Linked DNA regions of Homo sapiens: regions 1, 2 and 3 are each linked to region 4. The links are contacts of gene promoters, found by promoter capture Hi-C in blood cells and fetal thymus (Javierre and others, 2016). All regions are on one chromosome and are shown on one strand. The core of a region is centred on a gene start or on the middle of the fragment in contact, and the rest is flanking DNA. Distances in the headings are between cores, read along the strand shown.

Region 1 (2,797 bases), core at 286-2,785, 210 kb after region 4:
GTACTTGTAGGGTTACCTTGCTTATTTCTTTTCTCTTAAAGATCACTTTCTTGTGCTGCCCAGTGTCTGTTGTCTGGAAACTATAGTTTAATATATTTTGTCCATTTTCTAATGATTTAAGGGGAAAGGGTAAACCTGGTTTCTTTTATTCCATTATGGCCTGAAGCAGAGGTCTTAACTTTTATTCCTCCCTCCTACAACCTACCAGATCAACTGACTAATTTGAGAAGAGGAGGTAGAATTTATAATTTGAAAATTTGTCACATACCTTTTTCCACACTAGCCTGTTGAAAAGAAAAGACTGACTCCTAAAACTGGACACTATTATGATTATATTTGGATAAGTGATAATATACCAGTGTATTTCTTTTTGCATTTTTTATATCTAAATCACTGACTCTGTGAAGCCATTGATTTGATAAACCAAAATACGGTGTAGTAGTTACCCCTTATTGGCGGTTTTGCTTAAGGCAATTTCAGTTACCTGTACTCAGCTGTGGTTTGAAAACATTAAGTGGAAAATTCCAGAAATAACTTTTAATTTTTAAATTGCGTGCCATTCTGAGTAGCATGATGAAATCTCACTGTCCTGCTCCATCCTGCTAGGGACATGAGTTCAGTTTATCTGCACTATATACACTACCCATCTGGTAGTTCAGTTAGTAACCTTCTTGGTTGTCAGATCGACTGTTGGTGATACCACAGCGCCTGTGTTCAAAGAACCCTTATTTTATTAGTAATGCCCCCAAAGCTTAAGAGTAGTGGTGCTGACAATTCAGATATGCCAAAGAGAAGCTGTAAAGTTCCTCCTTTAAGCAAAAAGGTGAAAGTTCTCAAATTAATAAGAAAAAAAAATCATATGCTGAAGTTGCTAAGATCTGTGGTAAGAATCAGTTTCCTATCCATGAAATTGTGAAGAATGAAAAAGAAATTTATGCTAGTGTTACTGTTGCACCTTAAATTGCAAAAGTTACTACCATAGAGCACGGTGTTCAGTTATGATTGAAAAGACATTAAATTTATGGGTGGAAGATATGAACAAAAATGTGTTCCAATTGATGGCAACATATTGTGCTGGGTTAACTTAATCTCAATTAAATTAAACTTTATCATAGTTATGTATGTATAGGAAAAAACCTGGTATATATAGGGTTTGTTACTGTCTGAGGTTTCAGGCATCCACTGGAGGTCTTGGAACATAACTCCTAAGGATAAGGGGGGACTACTATGTATGCAAATGATGGATGATCCAGTTTTTTAGTTAAAATGTTGTCTTAAAACTCTAATTAGTGGAAAGCAGTTTGACAGTTTATTGTAAAGGTATATCCACACTTACTATATAACCCAAGACTTTTGTTTAACTAAGGGAAATGAAAGCAAATGTCTACACAAAAACTTGATGTTAATTTTTACAGTAGTTTTATTAATAATGGCCTCAATCTGGAAACAATCCAAGTGTCCACCCACATGGATAAATGGAATACTACTCAGCAATTAAAAGGAATACATTACTAATACAACAACATGAATGATTTTCAAAACTGTGCTGAGCAAAAGAAGCCAGACATTAGTCCTTCAATGTAAATTAAAACAAAAAAAGCCAGACACAAGAGTCTATAAAATTCTTGAAGAGGAAACAAATTAATCTGTAGTGATAGAAATCAAAGAAAGAATTTTGTGAGGGGTACCACAAGGAAACTTAGTGGAATGATGGGAATGTTCTATATCTTGATTGGTTAGTTAGCTGCACAGGTATATACATTTGTCAAGACTCATCAAACTATTCTTAAAATATGTTTATTCATTTTATTATATGAAAATTATATCTGAAAAAAGTTGACTAAAGAAAACTCTAGTAAGTGAGTTTAACAAATAACCTAAAAATATTGACTGAAATCTGAAATGGACTGGGCTCAGTGGCTCACACCTGTAATCCCAGCACTTTGGGAGGCTGAGTCAGGAGGATTGCTTCAACCCAGGAGTTTGAGACTAGCCTGAGCAACATAGTGAGACCCCATCTCTATTTTTTTAATCTGAAATGTTTAAATATATACCAACTTATATACACATGACATAGAACTACACACACACACACACACACACACCACATATTAACAACCTGGATTCTGATTCTGTTCTAAAATGCACAGTTCTTTTCAGCCTTTCACTTCCTTAATGTATGAAATGAGGTTAGTTTAGAAATTCTTTGCATCTGGGTGTAAAAACAAATAAGTTAGTAAGTTGAAAGTTAATCTTTTAAAAATTGTCTTGACTTAAGTAATTTTTTTTTCCAGAAATCTTCCTGCCAAATCTGTGGAAGAAGCTTTACGTCACCGACAAGAATACGATGAGATGGTGGCTGAGGCTAAAAAACGAGGTATAAAATTTAACTCCAAATGGTATAATTTTCTGATTTTAATAAGAAGATGGATGGTAAAATTCATCAAGTCTGTCTTCAAGATGATACTGAATTCTTTTTTTTATTTCTTTTTTCGTTTCTTTTTTGAGTCTTGCTCTGTTGCCCAGCCTGGTATGCAGTGATGCAGTCACAGCTCACTGTAGCCTGACCTTCCAGGCTCAAGCAGTCCTTTTACCTCTCAGCCTCCCAAGTAGCTGGGACCACAGGCACGTGCCACCATGCTTGGCTAGTTTTTTGTATTGTTTGTAGAGATGAGGTTTTACCATGTTGCCCATGCTTTTATTTTTCTCTACTATTTTTATAATTAAGTTTGTTCTAAAGGAGGAATAAAATGACATACCAGGATCATAGTTTTTCTGCATGTACTTTTACAGAATA
Region 2 (2,780 bases), core at 132-2,631, 140 kb after region 4:
ACATCTTGATTGTTGTATGGAGGACATGAACAATATGAATGTGATTAAAAAGAAAAGCAACTATGCAAGAGAGACCTGTTTCAAACACTTAGTAGTGTGACCTTGGCAAAGACTCTGTGGGGTCATCAGTCTGTCTTGGAAGTGGTAGGTTGGTGTATTGAATCCTAGGAGAATTTGATGAAAGCTGGCCAAGAGAAATGTTTGGAACTTCTTTTTTTTTTTTTTTTTTTTTTTAAGACAGGGTCTCACTGTGTTTCCCAGGCTGGAGTGCAGTGGCACAATCACAGCTTGCTGCATCCTCAACCTCCTGGGCTCAAGTGAGCCTCCCACCTCAACCTCTCGAGTAACTGGGACTATAGACGCATGCCACCATGCCTGGCTAATTTTTATACTTTTTGTGGAAATGGGGTTTTGCCATGTTAGACAGGGTAATCTCCAGTTCCTGAGGTCAAGTGATCCACCTGCTTCATTCAGCCTCCCAAAGTGCTGGAATTACAGGTGTAAGCCACCATGCCTGGCCTGTAAGTACATCATTTACTTAAAATTGTGCAGACAATATTTTTTTCTTACCTGACCTCATTACTGGATTGTGCACACAATTTGAGAATGCTTGTAGACAACCTGTGGCCCATTTGTGTAGGTTCATTGACTTTTTTTTGAGACAAAAATCTCACTGTTGCCCAGGCTGGAGTGCAGTGGTGCCATCAGGCTCACTACAGCCTTGACTTCGCAGGCTTACGTGATCCTCCCGCTTCAGCCTTCTGAGTAGCTGGGACTACAGATGCATGCCACCATGCCTGGCTGATTTTTTTTTGTAGAGACGGGGTTTCGCTATGTTGCCCAGACTGGTCTTGAACTCCTAGATGCAAGTGATCCTCCCGCCTTGGACTCTCAAAGTGCTGGCATTACAGACGTGAGTCATCATGCTCAGCAGGTTGATTGACTCTTAATAAAGAACTCTGACCTGGATAGTCTTTTTTTTTTTTAATTTAATTTTTAATTTTCTTTTTCTCTGAACACTCTCCAATGTTACGGATATTTTCTAAGGTCCCTAGAAGCTCTAAAATATTATTTATTACTTGAAAAATTGTAGCCTTTCAGCCTTGTAATTTCTCTTGTTTTGACAGAGTGGGTGATGTTGAATTTCCCTTTTTGATAGCTCTGATCTCAGAAAATATCTGGTTAGTTAAGTAATGTTTATTGAATAAAAATTCTCTACTTTTTTTTTAATTTTTAGGATTTGTAATAACAAAGACAAGATCCAAAAACAGCTTGAAAAAGAAAATTCTTGGAATTAAAAAAGCCTAAGTTATCTGGCAAAAAACCCTACTTTTTTTGCATATAGTCAGCTGAAAGTTTTTTCCAAGTGAAAAATGATTGAGGCTTGTAAAGAATGTTAGTAATCTTTGTGCCAGATCTTTAATCCAGAATACTCAAGGGTAACCAAAGTACTGAGTTTAGAGACAGTAGTTATACTTCTTTGAATTAATTATGTAGTCAGCTGTGGCATTCCATGGTCACTAGATAATGTTTTCTTTATGGCTTTTTATTCTTTGGGGAAATTAAAGTCCAGGAAGTTTTTATGTTTTCAGCCATCCAACTTCCCCTCTGTTATGATTTCTAATTTTTAAAACTGATTTTACTCTTTCAATTGATTCTATCCCCTCCACTTTTTTTTTTGAGACAGGTTCTTGCTCTGTCACTCAGGCTAGAGTGCAGTGGTACGATCTTGTGTTACTGCAGCCTTGACCTCCTGGGCTCAAGTGATCCTCCCGCTTCAGCCTGCCAAGTAGCTGGGGCTTCAGGTGCGTGCCACCACGCCTGCCTAATTTTTGCATTTTGTTTGTAGAGATGGGGTTTTGCCATGTTGCCCAGGCCGGTCTCGAACTCTTGGACGCAAGATACCCACCTGCCTTGGCCTCTCAAAGTGCTGGTATTACAGGTGTGAGTCACCGCACCCAGCCGAAAAGTATTCTATCCCCCCACCCCAATTTCTAAAAAAATAGATGGTGTCTTGCTATGTTGTCCAGTCTGGCCTCGAACTCCAGGGCTCAAGCAGTCCTCCTTCAGCCGCCTGAGTAGCCAAGACTACATGTGTGTGCCCAGTGTTGAATCCCCTTTTAATATACAAGTCTATTGAAATGATTATTAGAATTTATCCAATGAGTCTAAAAGGTTAAAATAGTCAAATTGATGTAAATGTTAAGCAAAATTAATTACTTTTTGGAGGGCTGGAGCTCACATTACTGTTGGCAGTAAGAAGATTCAGGATTAGGTAGTCACAATTTTCTATAGTGTCAAATTCCACAGTTTGAGAAACTATGGGATTTACATTCCTTTATCTCAGATACGTAAGTGGGTTTGCCAATTCTTAAAGATCCAAGCACTCTACATTCTGTTATTTAAAAAAGCATTAGTGGAGAATTTGCATGATATCAATAAATTTTGCCCCTTTTTAGTGAGCTTTAGCCTTTGATAAGGTATGGTAGGCAAATGGTCTGACTCTTAGGTCCTATGTAGCTTTTTTTGTGTGTGATAAAAGAAATGAAGAAATTTTAGGAGAATACAAGCACACAGATATGTGAAGCAAATGTTAACATGTATTAATAAGCTAGAGTCATTTACCCAACCTGTATTATAAAAGCCACTAAGGGAGAAGGCAGGGAAATGGTTGTATTAGTAGGCCTTTTCCCCTCTTTTCTCTTCTAATCCCCACATTAGCCTTTTCTTAGTGTGCCTCTTTTCTTTTTCAACTATATGTTTTCAACAATGAAGAAACC
Region 3 (2,776 bases), core at 137-2,636, 180 kb after region 4:
ATTTACAAGTTCACAGCATTTTAATTCTTACTGAAAGGCTGGATTTTATTATTAGCAACACTTACTTTCAATTGCTTTCCTTAAAATCACTGGCACACTTCATCCTTTTTTGTTTGTTTTAATAAGCTTTTTATTTTGGAATAACTTTAGATTTACAGAATAACTTTAGATTTTGGAATAACTTTATTATTGTGATACTGAAAAAACAATACAGAGAATTCATAAATACCTCTCATTCAGTTTCTTCTAATGTTAGCATCTATTACCCTGTACATTTGTCAAAACTCAGAAAATTGACTTTGGTAGATTACTATTAATTAAACTCCAGACTTCACTTGGATTTCACCAATTTTTCTATTAAAGTCCTATTTCTCTTTCAGTGTCTAATCCGGAATATCACATTATATTTTGCTATCACAATTCCTTAGTCTCTATGGCCTTTGACAGTTTGTCATCTTTCCTTTTTTTAATGAACTTGACACTTTTGAAGAGTACTGGTCTATTATTTTCTAGAATGGTCTTCAATTTAGGTTTCTCTCATGATTTCCTTATGACTTGAGTGGGTTTATGGTTTTCTGGGAGAAATATCATGGAGATAAAGGGCCCGCTTTGTCTAATTTTTAGAAAATGACTGCCACTGCAGTTTGCAGTCAGTTTTTCTTTTAAATAAAAATAGTGTTCTTGAAAAAGACATTTGTTCAGTTTAGAACTCAAATAATTGCACAAGTGCTTTTCCTTTGCACAAGTGTGTAGTCGAGTTTTTTTTTGTTTTTGTTTTTGTTTTTTAAGACAGAGTTTCGCTGTTGTTGCCCAGGCTGGAGTGCGGTGGCGCTATCTCAGCTCACTGCAACCTTTGCCTCCTGGGTTCAAGCGATTCTCCTGCCTCAGCCTCCCGAGTAGCTGGGATTACAGGCATGCACCACCACGCCCGGCTAATTTTTGTATTTTTAGTAGAGATGGAGTTTCTCCATTTGGTCAGGCTGGTCTCGAACTTCCGACCTCAGGTGAGCCGCCCGCCTTGGCCTCCCAAAGTGCTGGGATTACAGGCATGAGCCACTGTGCCCGGCCCTGTACTTTTCCTTTTGTCACGCAGAATGTTAAGATGTTTACTCATATATAAATATTTAATACAATTAATAATTTTTACTGTTTTGTCATAGACATACTTAAATGAATCTGGCCACTCCCCCTCTTTTTTTTAAACCTTCAATGCATGTCCTGAATAATACAGTCATCACAGTGCTATTGCTTTGATTTGTGATAGGGCACTGACAGTTTTTGTTTTTGAGACAGGGTCTCTATTGCCCAGGTTGGGGTGCAGCAGTGAGCTCATAGCTCCCCACTCTCATGCGCGTACAACCATACTTGGCTAATGTTTTTATTTTTTGTAGAGACAATGTCTCACTATATTGTCCAGGCTACCTACAGTTTTATTCAGCATTGCTGAGCACCATTAGTACAAATGTCAATGCAGTGACAAACTATTAACACTCTTAGGAATATAGCTCTGACTTTGCAGACCCCATGAAAGCATGTCCTGAACACTTAGGTCTTCTAATTACACATCGAGAAACTGCAACACTAGGGCTTTTATGATATTTAATTTATCATGGTCTACCTTCAAATAACTTTATAGCACTTGAGTATAATGGAAGAACCTTACAACAGTGTACTGCTGTTACCTCCTTTCTAACTTTTGTGCTGTAAACTGCTTATTTACATTTACCAGTATATTTCTGTATTAAATGACCAAATATTCTCTAACTTTAAGAAATGAGAAAACTGTCTTTTTGTCTATATTTATTATTTTTGGTGCTTTTTATCTCTTTGTGTATATTCATGTTTTCATGTGATACATACTTTCTGCCTGAATAATGTCCTTGAAATTATATTGCTGGTCTACTGACAACAAATTCTCTTAGCTATTGCTTGTCTGAAAATAATTTTATTTTGCTTTCACTTATGAAAGATATTTCCTCTGGTATAGGATTCTAAGTTAATAGATGTTCCCTCTCCATTTTTTTTTCCTTCAGCAGTTTAAAGATTTTTCTATTGTCTTTTGACTGGAATAATTTTAGGGGAAAAGTCTTGTAATTGTTTTCACATTCAGTCTTTTCAATATAAGTGCTTTTTTTCTGGCTGCTTTTAAAATATTCTTCTTACCATTATATTTTAGCAAATAATTATGATGTCTTTTGGTGTGGTTTTATCTGTATTCTGCTTAGAATTTATTGAACTTCTTGGGTCTGTGGGTGTAGTTTGACAACATTTCAGCCATTATTGTCTTAAATATTGTTCTCCCTCGTACCAACACTCCAATTACACATAATTTAGGCTGCTTCATAGTGTTCCCTAAAGCTCTGCTTATATTTCTTCAATTTTTTTCCCTTTCTTTGCTTAATTTTGGATAGTTTCTGTTGCTCTGTTCTCAAGTTGATTGATAACAGTGCTACAGTTGTTAATATGCAAGATCTGACGTGAATATTTTACTGGGTGACATTAATCACAGATTAAACATTGCAGAAGAAAGTAAGTTCATTGATAATTTCTTAGTTATGGGATAAATTAGCTCCAAAGAAAAAATTACGTTAGATGTGAACTAAAAAAGTTTATAAATAAGCCATAAAGGAGTCAAACTGATGCACAAGAAGCTTAACTTCTGGACAGAACAAAATCAAGTATTATTCAGCCCTCAGCCGTCTAAAATTCACAATGTCTTACATCCAACAAAGAGACCTTTTGGGTTTTTCCTGAATGTTTTGTGTATTCCCAGTGA
Region 4 (2,960 bases), core at 429-2,928:
TCAGTCAAGATTCTTTTGTTTGAAAGTGGCAGAAATTGACCTAAGTAAAGGGAACTTTATTGACTCATGTGCTTAAAAATGAAGACACACAGGTTTCAGGTATAGCTTAACCAAGGTACATGCTTTCTCTTTCCTCATTTCTCATTCCGCCTCCATCATGTTGGCTTTCTCCCCTTTATTCCCTTCTGGTTGCGAGACGGCTACAGCAGGCCAGCACTACATGCTTCCAGTTTCAGCTTCAGTGTAAGAGTCTCTTCCAGAACTTCCCGCAGAAGTGTCATTGTTTCTCATTGGGTCCTTTACCAATCACTGTGGCCAGGAGATGCAGTGCTCTGATGGTCTGGATCCCATGTCACATTCTCCACTCTGAGCTGGGTAGCAAGGCCCCACCCAAACCACAAGGACCAAGGATGGCGTTGAAGTGGAAGGAGAGATTTCCCCCAATTGACCGTTTTTAGAAGTACAGTGGACAGGCTGATGAACCACTTTCCAAAAACAGTGTCCTTTTCAATTAATGAATGGTAGACCTATGGCTCTGAAGCCTGTCTGTCTCCAAAGTCCTGCCCTTACCCGTTATACTGCCTGGCCTCTCTTGTTTCGGGCTGTTTTCAATGAGGTACTCAATTATGTGTCCCACAAATGGGGCACCAGGGGGTAGAAGACAAACAAGAAAGTCCCTAAGTACATGGAACTCAGAAAAATTCATCTCCTCATACTAAGAAAAAGGATTCTCTTGAATATAATTTCTGAGAACAGGAAAGTGGCTGAGATAGGAGGATCAGTCTAAATGTTAGTAAACAGGATTTATAGACTTGGCCTGGAGAGAGGCACTAAAATGCCCTCATCTTTTCAAGATGGGCTGAACTCAGGTCCCTCCCAGAGCATATCTTAAGCACCTGGTCTCACACAGTGCCTGACAAATGGGCCAGAGGCATTGGGCTATTTAAAAATTAGGCAAACTGGGTGTAGTGGTGCGTGCCTGTAATCCCAGCTACCAGGGAGGCTGAGCAGGAGAAATGCTTGAGTCTAGGAGTTCAAGCCCAGCCTGGGCAAGATATATAGCAAGACCTCATCTCTAAAAAATAATAATTAAATTTTTAAAATCACAGTTAGGTAATAGTGAGCTTTTCACACATCAGAGTAAAAAAAATCATATTATTTAATGATATGATAAAAATCATATATTTCATGATATTAAAATCATTTTAATTGTAAGTTTTCTCCTATAAGCTGTTTTTAAACTTTTGGCAGCTGCTACTGCTTGTCTGCTAGCAAATCCTGTTGAGGAGGATATGAATCAATAAGTAGCCAGCAAAGATTTCAGAGAAATGCAGGAACCTGGCCATTTAAGTTTAATTTCACAGACCATGACCTCATGGCATATAAGTACAATATGACCATTATTTGCAACTGGCAAAACTCTTTTTCTGATGGAGTAAAACCCTTTACCTGTCAAAGAGCCTGGAGGCTGGCATGTCCTTCATTGCAGGAACAAGGATGAGCGCCACTCTGTCCAAGAATCACACCCACTGCAGCTCTTATTCTTTATAAATGCAGCGGATGCCACACTCGGACCATTCCACTGGCTTTGTCTTTTCTTCTCAAGCACTCAGTAAATAAGGAGCACAAATTCCCAAAGATATTTGAAGTCTGTGTGAAAGATAAAGTCTCTGTACCAGTAGAGAATCGTGGAAGATCAGGAGGTCATGTGATAGAGCTTCTAAGCATGTGGTTGTTCGGCTTATTTTAAAAATTCCAAGTATGTTGTTTTTTAAAAGTGTTCACATAGCATACATTTCTTCATAGGTATAGTGTATTTTCTCTTTAGAAAAATGAAATTTCTTACATTTTTTCCCTGATTTTATTTCCTGTCTCAAAATAGCTAAATTGGATTGCCAGAATGATTGTTATAATACCTTCTAAATATTTCTTTTTACAATCATTTGTTTGATGCACATGAGGAAAATACTATAAACTGTTCATTTTGCTATGCCGTTTATTTTAATTTTGCTACATTATCAATTTCAGTGTATGTCACCTTTCATCATCCCAAGTCCCTTCTTACAAGCCATATGCAAAAAAAAAAAAAAAACCCTTCATTGCAATGAGGCACTCAACAATCATGTGGTATGAGGCCCACAGAAAGGAAGGAACTTCCCCACCATCAGAAGCTAGGTCAGTGGCAGGGCAAGAGCCAGAATTCCTGTCAGCTCCCAGGGGTGGGCTCTTTGCACCACACTATGGAAGTAGTTGAATTTTTTCGACCTGCTTTCTCTTAGGGTTTATTTCTCGGTTGCATTTAGTACTTCTATTGTCCTGGGTTTTTTTCTCCTTCTAATAGAAAAAAAAAAGGATATGGTATTTTTATTTTATGACCCCATCAACCTAGTTTCCAATATCTTCCCACAAGCTCCCCTGCATCCCCCACTCTCCTCAGGCACCTACATACACTGCCGTCTTTCTAGTGCCAGGCCATTGCTCAGAGTGTTCTCAACCTTGCCTGGCCTTCCTTCTCCCCTTGGCCCCATTCCAAATTCCAAGGACGGGGTCCTTGGAAAGTATCTGAGACTCTTCAACTCATTGTGACATCTCCTTTCTGGAGCTCCTTCATTTATAGGCATATGTTTGGGTACCTCCTAGATACCCAGTTGTTCCACAGTTAGGAGTGCAACCTTGTTCTTTTATTTTGAATTTTTTTATTTTGACAGCTTTAGTGGTACAAGTAGTTTTTGGTTACATGGATGAATTGTATAGTGATGAAGTCTGGGATTTTAGCGCACCTGTCACCCAAGTCGTGTAAGTCATACCCACCAGGTAGTTTTTCATCCCTCACCTCCCTCCCACTCTCATTCTGAGTCTCCAATGTCCATTACGCTGCTCTGTATGCCTTGACATACCCATAGCTTAAAAGATTACAACCCTGTAAGACAAAAATTATTCAGTGGTGACAAGATCATCAG

What was found. Contacts are between HindIII fragments. The CHiCAGO score rates a contact against its expected background, and 5 or more counts as called.
Region 1: a contact is called between a fragment that was not itself captured here and the fragment with the promoter of PLCE1-AS1 in region 4, in 2 of 17 cell types (M2 macrophages and naive B cells). The highest score is 5.6, in M2 macrophages.
Region 2: a contact is called between a fragment that was not itself captured here and the fragment with the promoter of PLCE1-AS1 in region 4, in 3 of 17 cell types (naive B cells, total B cells and monocytes). The highest score is 8.7, in naive B cells.
Region 3: a contact is called between a fragment that was not itself captured here and the fragment with the promoter of PLCE1-AS1 in region 4, in 1 of 17 cell types (M2 macrophages). The highest score is 6.5, in M2 macrophages.

What each region holds. Positions count from the first base shown.
Region 1 is chr10:94,491,071-94,493,867 of GRCh38, forward strand. TBC1D12 (TBC1 domain family member 12) reads left to right here. Exons shown (of 13, transcript NM_015188.2): 4 at 2,295-2,377. Among named protein-coding and RNA genes, the nearest start is that of HELLS, 53 kb to the right of the region's middle. The HindIII fragment of the contact is 1,572 bases long and covers 750-2,321 here.
Region 2 is chr10:94,428,072-94,430,851 of GRCh38, forward strand. The region is part of intron 1 of TBC1D12 (TBC1 domain family member 12); the gene reads left to right. Among named protein-coding and RNA genes, the nearest start is that of TBC1D12, 27 kb to the left of the region's middle. The HindIII fragment of the contact is 9,366 bases long and covers 1-2,780 here.
Region 3 is chr10:94,466,464-94,469,239 of GRCh38, forward strand. The region is part of intron 2 of TBC1D12 (TBC1 domain family member 12); the gene reads left to right. Among named protein-coding and RNA genes, the nearest start is that of TBC1D12, 65 kb to the left of the region's middle. The HindIII fragment of the contact is 2,525 bases long and covers 125-2,649 here.
Region 4 is chr10:94,285,392-94,288,351 of GRCh38, forward strand. PLCE1-AS1 (PLCE1 antisense RNA 1) reads right to left here and starts at 1,679. Exons shown (of 4, transcript NR_033969.1): 1 at 1,450-1,679. The region is part of intron 22 of PLCE1 (phospholipase C epsilon 1); the gene reads left to right. The HindIII fragment of the contact is 4,167 bases long and covers 1-2,960 here.